Regions from separate parts of the Homo sapiens genome. Here region 1 is linked to region 2. Evidence: promoter capture Hi-C in 16 types of primary human blood cells and fetal thymus (Javierre and others, 2016). All regions are on one chromosome and are shown on one strand. The core of a region is centred on a gene start or on the middle of the fragment in contact, and the rest is flanking DNA. Distances in the headings are between cores, read along the strand shown. Region 1 holds the start of PAN2 (poly(A) specific ribonuclease subunit PAN2). Region 2 overlaps SARNP (SAP domain containing ribonucleoprotein).

What was found. The method cuts DNA at HindIII sites, captures the fragments that hold promoters and counts their contacts. A CHiCAGO score of 5 or more calls a contact.
Region 1: the fragment with the promoter of PAN2 here is called in contact with a fragment that was not itself captured in region 2 in 1 of 17 cell types (naive CD8 T cells); the score reaches 5.4 in naive CD8 T cells.

Annotation. Positions count from the first base shown.
Region 1 is chr12:56,332,437-56,336,139 of GRCh38, forward strand. It overlaps PAN2 (poly(A) specific ribonuclease subunit PAN2), which reads right to left and starts at 1,564. Exons shown (of 26, transcript NM_014871.6): 1 at 1,426-1,564; 2 at 377-772. The coding sequence starts at 658. RefSeq lists enhancers at 1,400-1,569, 1,695-1,914, 1,832-2,001 and cis regulatory regions at 1,469-1,500, 1,485. The HindIII fragment of the contact is 11,393 bases long and covers 1-3,703 here.
Region 2 is chr12:55,813,493-55,816,970 of GRCh38, forward strand. The region is part of intron 1 of SARNP (SAP domain containing ribonucleoprotein); the gene reads right to left. Among named protein-coding and RNA genes, the nearest start is that of SARNP, 2.5 kb to the right of the region's middle. The HindIII fragment of the contact is 3,247 bases long and covers 1-3,084 here.

The DNA of each region.
Region 1 (3,703 bases), core at 314-2,813, 520 kb after region 2:
TTTTAAAAATTAGCTGGTCTTGGTTGCGCATGCCTGTAGTCCCAGCTACTTGAGATGCTAAAGTGGGAGGATTGTGTGAGCCCAGGAGATTGAGGCTGCAGTGAGCCATGATCACATTACGCCATTGCACTCTGGCCTAGGCGACAGAGCAAGACCCTGTCTCGAAAAAAAAAAAAAAAAAAAGGGATGCCTCCTGAGAAAGAATATGTCATTTACTCCTAGATCCTAGATTCTCCCTTTATCCCTCCAACCAGACCCAGCTGTCTCATCACTACAACTCCTCGGTACTGGCTATCTGCAAAGCAGCTTCCTTGGGTTAAGACCAGATAAAGACCTTCAACATCTTTCAACCCTCACAAAGGGGTACAGTTCTTACCCCGTGGCTCCCCACCCACAGCATCTCCTCGTGCAAGTCAAAGTGGGAGACGGAAACAGGTACACCCACTTCAGCCACCACGCTGTGCAATTCAGAGTAGACACCTTCCATTATGTGCACTGATTCCTGGACGGGAAGAGCCTCCAAGGCCACTCCCTCTGGGTCCAGCTCCACATTCTGTAGCAGACTTGGGTTCAGGTGGGCATCCAAGACAGGGTCCAGGGCAGAATGCATGGCTGGGGCATATTCTGCCAGTCCAGGGTCCAGACCCTCAAAGTTCATGATGACGATGGCAGCTTACACCTGTGTCACACCCTCCCTTACCACAGTCCCTTTAGATGCCTGACCCAACCTTCAGCAAGACAGCACCGATGGGCCTAGAATGGACATCCTGGCCTGTAAGGGGAAAGAGGTAGCTGAGTCAAGGGTAGGCCCAGGTACTGGTACTTAGGGTCTTCTAGGTTATGGGGGCAGGAGGGAGATGAGGCAGGCATGAGGGATGAGACTGCCAGCCAAAGGATGAAGCAGGCGGGGGAGGGATGGGCAGTGGGGGTGGAGGTGGTAGAACTGTTGTCCCTATCCCTCCTCCGCTAGGCCCTCTGTACTCTCCACCACCCCATTATCTAACCTAATCCTTGACTTCCCTTTCTTCTCACTTCGGACTGCTCACTTGCCTTGTTCAGCCCTGAATCATCAGGTGAAGGGAGCGAGAATTGCGGGGGTTGGAGTTAGGTAGAGGGATTTAAGGTGCTTTCTCCCAGAATTGGGGGTGAAAACGGGTGGATTGGACGGTGGGGAGAACGAGAAGTCAGTTTCCTAGAATCCTCTCCAATAGCTACCCAGGATTCTCTAGAGGAAAACAATAATGGCCAGTTACCCACAATTGGGGCGGGGGCAGGGGAAGGTGACGGAAACGGCTAGTTACCCAGAATTCTCTGGGGGAACCAGAAAAATCGGTTATCTAGAATTCTCCCACGGCAGCGGTGAGGAGGGGGATAGGGCAAGGGTCAGATGTGTTCCTGGGATGCTTACGGGGAATGGGTCATTACCAAGATTTCTCCATGGCGGATATTTTGGAGCGCGTGGAATTAGAACGAGTAGGGGGAGCGCAAGCGCTGTCAGCTCCGCGGGAAATTCCAGTTTCCCCAGTTCTCCCCCACGCCTAGGGCTCAACCTAACCACTACGGCGCCAAGGACCGGGGTCCGAGGCGCTTCTTCCAATCAAGAAGGGCTCGGGGCATATTTTAGCCAATCAGAAGGGCTCCGGGCGCATCTAAGCCAATCAGAAGGAGCCAGGTACGGCGACCCCAGGAGAGAGCGTGTGACGCACGCGCCGGAAAAAGAGGTTACGGGGCGCCGGTGGGACAAACGCAGCCAGACGCCGGACTTGTTGGGTGGCGTTAGAAAGTAACTCTGTTTTTAGTCTTCTTGAACAAAATTACGTCTAGGTTTGAAAACCAAACTTTTATGCTTTCTATAACTTTAGGAACTCTAAAATAAGGGACACACAAGGCAAAGCACTAGGAGTCGCTGTTGGGTATTCCCAGCGGGGCTTAGTCTACCTCCTCTTCCTGCGGTGCCCTAGTGAGCCACTCCGCCACCTCTGACCCTGTTGCCCCCAAAACTCGCTGGCATTTCCTATTATTTCCAGATATGGGAGAGAAAAAAAAGGAAGCGGGAGCCGGACTCCTGACACAGTCCAAGTGGCTGCATCTTCTACAGGCATCCATCTGAAACTCCCATCCGTGATTGTTCCCTCCCCAGAGACCCCGGTAACATTCCCGGGTAACAAGATGCCCCTGGTTATCAAATTCCCCTAGCTCTTGAGGCTGGCTGGACGTTATCCCTCAGAGGGGGATGAGCATGGCAAATTGGGACTTGTTATTCTGAAGGATTCGTGGGTCCTGTGAACTCTAATTACTTTGAAATGGGTCTAGGTTGTGAGATGTCTCAGAGCACTTTAGCTCAGCTGTTATTACTGTTTCTAAAGGCCACATAAAGGGACTCTGATGGGAGACATTCCTCATGGAGGATTCAATTCTATAACATTTCTCTCAATAAAGGCTGGTAAATAGACCTTCATTAAAGGAACCAAGAATTTAAATTTCTAGGACTCAGAGGGGTGGGGTCCTATACCCAGTCAGAGATCCTACCTAGAGCCTAGACCAAGAGAAAAACACAGATGGTCTCTCAAACTGATTTGATCTGACTTCGCAGGTCATTAGATATAGAATCTCCGAAAAAGGTGGATGCTGAGAGACATAGACAGTTCCTACACTTTAAGAAATCTCCATCTTGAGGTCTCAAATTGAGAAAGACTTAACAGACCCATGAGAGTTACAGATCCCTAATAACCTGGGCTAAATAATCCATGTCTGCCGGGCGCAGTGGCTCACGCCTGTAATCCCAGCACTTTGGGAGGCCGAGGTGGGCGGATCACCTGAGGTCGGGAGTTCGAGACCAACCTGACCAATATGGAGAAACCCCGTCTCCACTAAAAATACAAAATTAGCCGGGCCTGGTGACGGGAGCCTGTAATCCCAGCTACTTGGGAGGCTGAGGCAGGAGAATCATTTGAACCTGGGAGGCGGAGGTTGCAGTGAGCCGAGATGGCACCATTGCACTCCAGCCTGGTCAGTAAGAGCGAAACTCCGTCTCAAAAAAAAGAAAAAAAAAAAGAAAAGAAAAAAGGATACTGTGAGGAGACACAAGAGCATCCATGACATAGATTATTTAGCTCAGCTGTAATTACTGTTTCTAATACAGTAATATTAGATGGTGATCTGCCTGCCTCGGCCTCCCAAAGTTCTGGGATTACAGGTGTGAGCCACCGCGCCCAGCCTTTTTTTTTTTTTTTTTTTGAGACAGGATCTCACTCTGTTGCCCATGCTTAAGCGCATTGGCCCTCTCACTCACTGTAGCCTCAACCTCCTGGGCTCAAGCGATCCTCCCACTTCAGCCTCCCAACTAGCTGTAACTACAGGCACTGGCCACCAAACCCAGATAATTTTTTTTTTCCTGTAGAGGTGGGGTTTTGCCACGTTACCCAGGCTGGTCTTGAACTCTTAAGCTCAAGCGATCCTCCTGCCTCGGCCCCCCAAAGTTCTGGGATTACAGGCATGAGCCACCATACCTGGCGTACAGTATCCAGTGTAATGCAGTGATTAAAAATTCAGGATCCAGACCGGGATGGTGGCTTGTGCCTGTAGTCCCAGGGGTGGAGGTTGCAGTGAACGGAAATGGTGCCACTGCATTCCAGCCTGGGTGACAGAGTGAGACCCTGTCTCAACAAAACCCCCCAAAAACCAAGAACAAAAAAGAATGCAG
Region 2 (3,478 bases), core at 211-2,710:
AGTGTGCAATGATTAGAACATGAATTTTGGACACAGGCTGCCTGGAATTTTTTTTTTTTTTTTTTTTTTGAGACGGAGTTTCACTTTTGTTGCCCAGGCTGGAGTGCAATGGTGCCATATCGGCTCACCGCAACCTCCACCTACGCGGTTCAAGTGATTCTCCTGCCTCAGCCCCCCGAGTAGCTGGGATTACAGGCATGTGCCATCACGCCCAGCTAATTTTGTATTTTTAATAGTGACGGGGTTTCTCCATGTTGGTCAGGCTGGTCTCGAACTCTCGACCTCAGGTGATCCGCCTGCCTCGGCCTCCCAAAGTACTGGGATTACAAGCGTGAGCCACTGCACCCAGCCTGCTTGGATTTAATATACAACATTTTAGCTGTGCAACCTAAGGCAAGTTACTCAGTTACTCTCTCTGAGCTATGGTTTTTCTTATTTTCAAATGAGGATAATACAGGTATTTACCTTACAGGGTTATTATGAGAATTAAATCAGTTAGTGTATGTAAATGGCTTCAAACAGTGCTTTGCCACATAACAAATGCTAAGTGTTGGCAATTGATGAAGCATTCTGAAGAAATTAAATAAAATAAGGCCACAGTAGTTGAAGAGTTAGTAACTATGCTGGAGAGACGGGCAGGGATATAATTTAAAGGTTTTAAGCAGGGGAATGACTCCTATAATAAATATCTAAGTGGTGAAATCGCTCCCCCTACAAATCCCATCCGCCAAGAGAATACAAGCTGATCACATCAAGCTCCTCCTTTCAAACTTCCAAAGGCTCCCAGCCCTACTTCTTACATGACAAAGGCCAGAAGTCCTTACATAACTTAGAAAGCCCTTTTCAATATCACTCTGATTTACCTTTATAGTTTACCTATTTTCCTTTCCAAACTATCTTCAACTACCAATATATTTCCTCACTTCACTTTTCAATACAAATGTCTCACTATTCTCAACACTCTGACACTACTATCACTTTCTCCTCTCCTCTGCAATAGTTCCTTTTCTAATGTTTGACTGGATATCTGATACTGTTACAGTTCAAGCCATTTTCATCCACAGTTCAATCTCTCTTTCCAAATGTGTTAGTATGGGCCAGGAGTGGTGGCTCATGCCTATAATCCCAGCACTTTGGGAGGCCAAGGCAAGAGGATCACCTGAGGTCAGTCAAGTCCAGCCGGACCAATAACATGGTGAAACCCCATCTCTACTAAAAATACAAAAATTAGCCAGGCATGGTGGCACGTGCCTGTAATCCCAGCTACTCGGGAAGCTGAGGCACGGGAATTGCTTGAACCTGGAAGGCGGAGGTTGCAGCGAGCCGAGATCTTGCCACTGCACTCCAACCTGGGCGACAGAGCGAGACTCCATCTCAATTTAAAAAAAAAAAAAAAAGAATGACTGCATTTCTACAAAATCCTCAGAAATTTGCTGTTGATATGACATTACATATCAACTCAGATACATACTATGTTTCCTTCCTGCTTCAAAAGGTATTCCCTTCCCCTGAGGTTCCATACCAAAGCCCAAAATTCTCTTTATGACAATGGAGAGATTTTTTTATTTTCTTTTTTTTGAGACAAGGTCTCCCTTTGTCACCCAGGCTGAAGTGCAGTGGAGCAATTATCACACAGCTGACCACAGCCTTGGCCTCCCAGGCTCAAGCAATCCTCCCACTTCAGCCTCCTGAGGAGCTGGGACTACAGGTGTGTGCCACCATGCCCAGCTAATTTTTTAATTTTTTTTGTAGAGACAGGGTCTCACTATGTTACCTAAGCTGGTCTCAAACTCCTGGCCTCCGCCTCCCAAAGAGTTGGGATTACAGGTGTGGGTCACTGCACCCAGCCAAGATTTTTTTTTAAGGCAATAAAACCCCAAGTCAACCCAGAAGTCAGGATCATTGCATCAAGATCACCAGTGGAACCAAACATTAATTGTCCTAAAAATCAGAATCAAAGGCATGAGTTCTTTTTTTCTTTTTGAGACGGAGTCTCACTGTCCCCCAGGCTGGAGTGCAGTACACCATCTCGGCTCACTGCAACCTCCAACCCGGGCTCAAGCGATTCTTGTGCCTCAGCCTCCTCACAGCCTCCTCAATAGCTGGGACTACAGGCACTTGCCACCACACCTGGCTAATTTTTGCATTTTTGGTAGAGGCGGGGTTTCGCCATGTTGCCCAGGCTGGTCTCGAACTCCTGGCCTCAAGCAATCCGCCCGCCTAGGCCTCCCAAAGTGCTAGGATTACAGACGTGAGCCACCACGCCCAGCTAAAGGCATGAGTTCTTAACCAGAGGTCCATGGACTCCTCGGGGCTACAAGGTAGTTTTATGAAGCCCCTCAAACTGCATGCAAAATATGTGTACATGCCTTTTTCTGGGGAGAGGGTCCATACCTTTCATCAGAGTTTCAAAGATATCTGTGACCTCCAAAAGGTTAAGAAGTGCTCTAGAGAAAAAGCAAAGACAAGCAAATGTGATTAAAGAGCAAGTCCTTTTTAGGCTGTCAGGAGTGCCTAATGTTCTCTTAGACTGTAACACTGAAATCAGGTCAGAGGACTTTACGTAAAAGTTACTTATCCAATCAAATACAAATTTTATATAGACCTGACAAATACAGATTTGATGGAAGGAGGAACTCCATAAACCAACACAATCTATAAATGCAAGTAAGTCATCGGGCAGCTGGTGACTTACTCCAGGGATTTCAAAAATAGGACAAATAGGAAGAAAATATTAGCTCTTCTATATATAGTTCCTTTTTATCTCATTCAAAAATTCCTTTTCTGTGTTATATTTTATAACAGTCCAGAAGTATACAATTTCTATAAGTACAGTATATATAAACAAAGTGGAGATGATTGCTCAATTTTTTTTAACTCATCACAATAAAGATCAAGAGACCGCTGATATAGTCTATGCATTTCAGTATCATCAAGTTAACAATAACTCCAGAATAACACAAAAACCCACTAACAGAGTTTAGAATCCAAGAGTAAGAAAAACATCAGTTTCACAGAAAGACTAATTGGGGTCAACTAATAAGTGACTAAAGAAGGGTCCTCTCCCTACCCTTACTACCCTTAAGCTTTCTTAACAGCAACAAAAACAAAAAAAAACTTTTCGAGCTTTAAAGGATCACTTTTCAGTTTCAGCTATATCAGCCTGGTTTGTCCAAAACATCTAATGGGAAAACTACTTGTGAAACCACAAACAGACAATTACTCAAGATATCTTAATTTACCCTAAAAGAAAATACTTTTTAAAATGTTCTTCTTTTTAATATATTTTTTTAACTTTTTTATATATCTAAGTGTGAAAAAACTACCAAGAGTCTCATAAGACAATTTAAAATAGCTTCTGTGATTCAGTGTCAGCCAATGGTAACACCAGGAGATGCAGGGCCCACCCGAGATATGAAATGGAACAGAGATAATCTTAACCTTGGAATTGTTTTTCCCAAATATTGCAGGTGTGAGT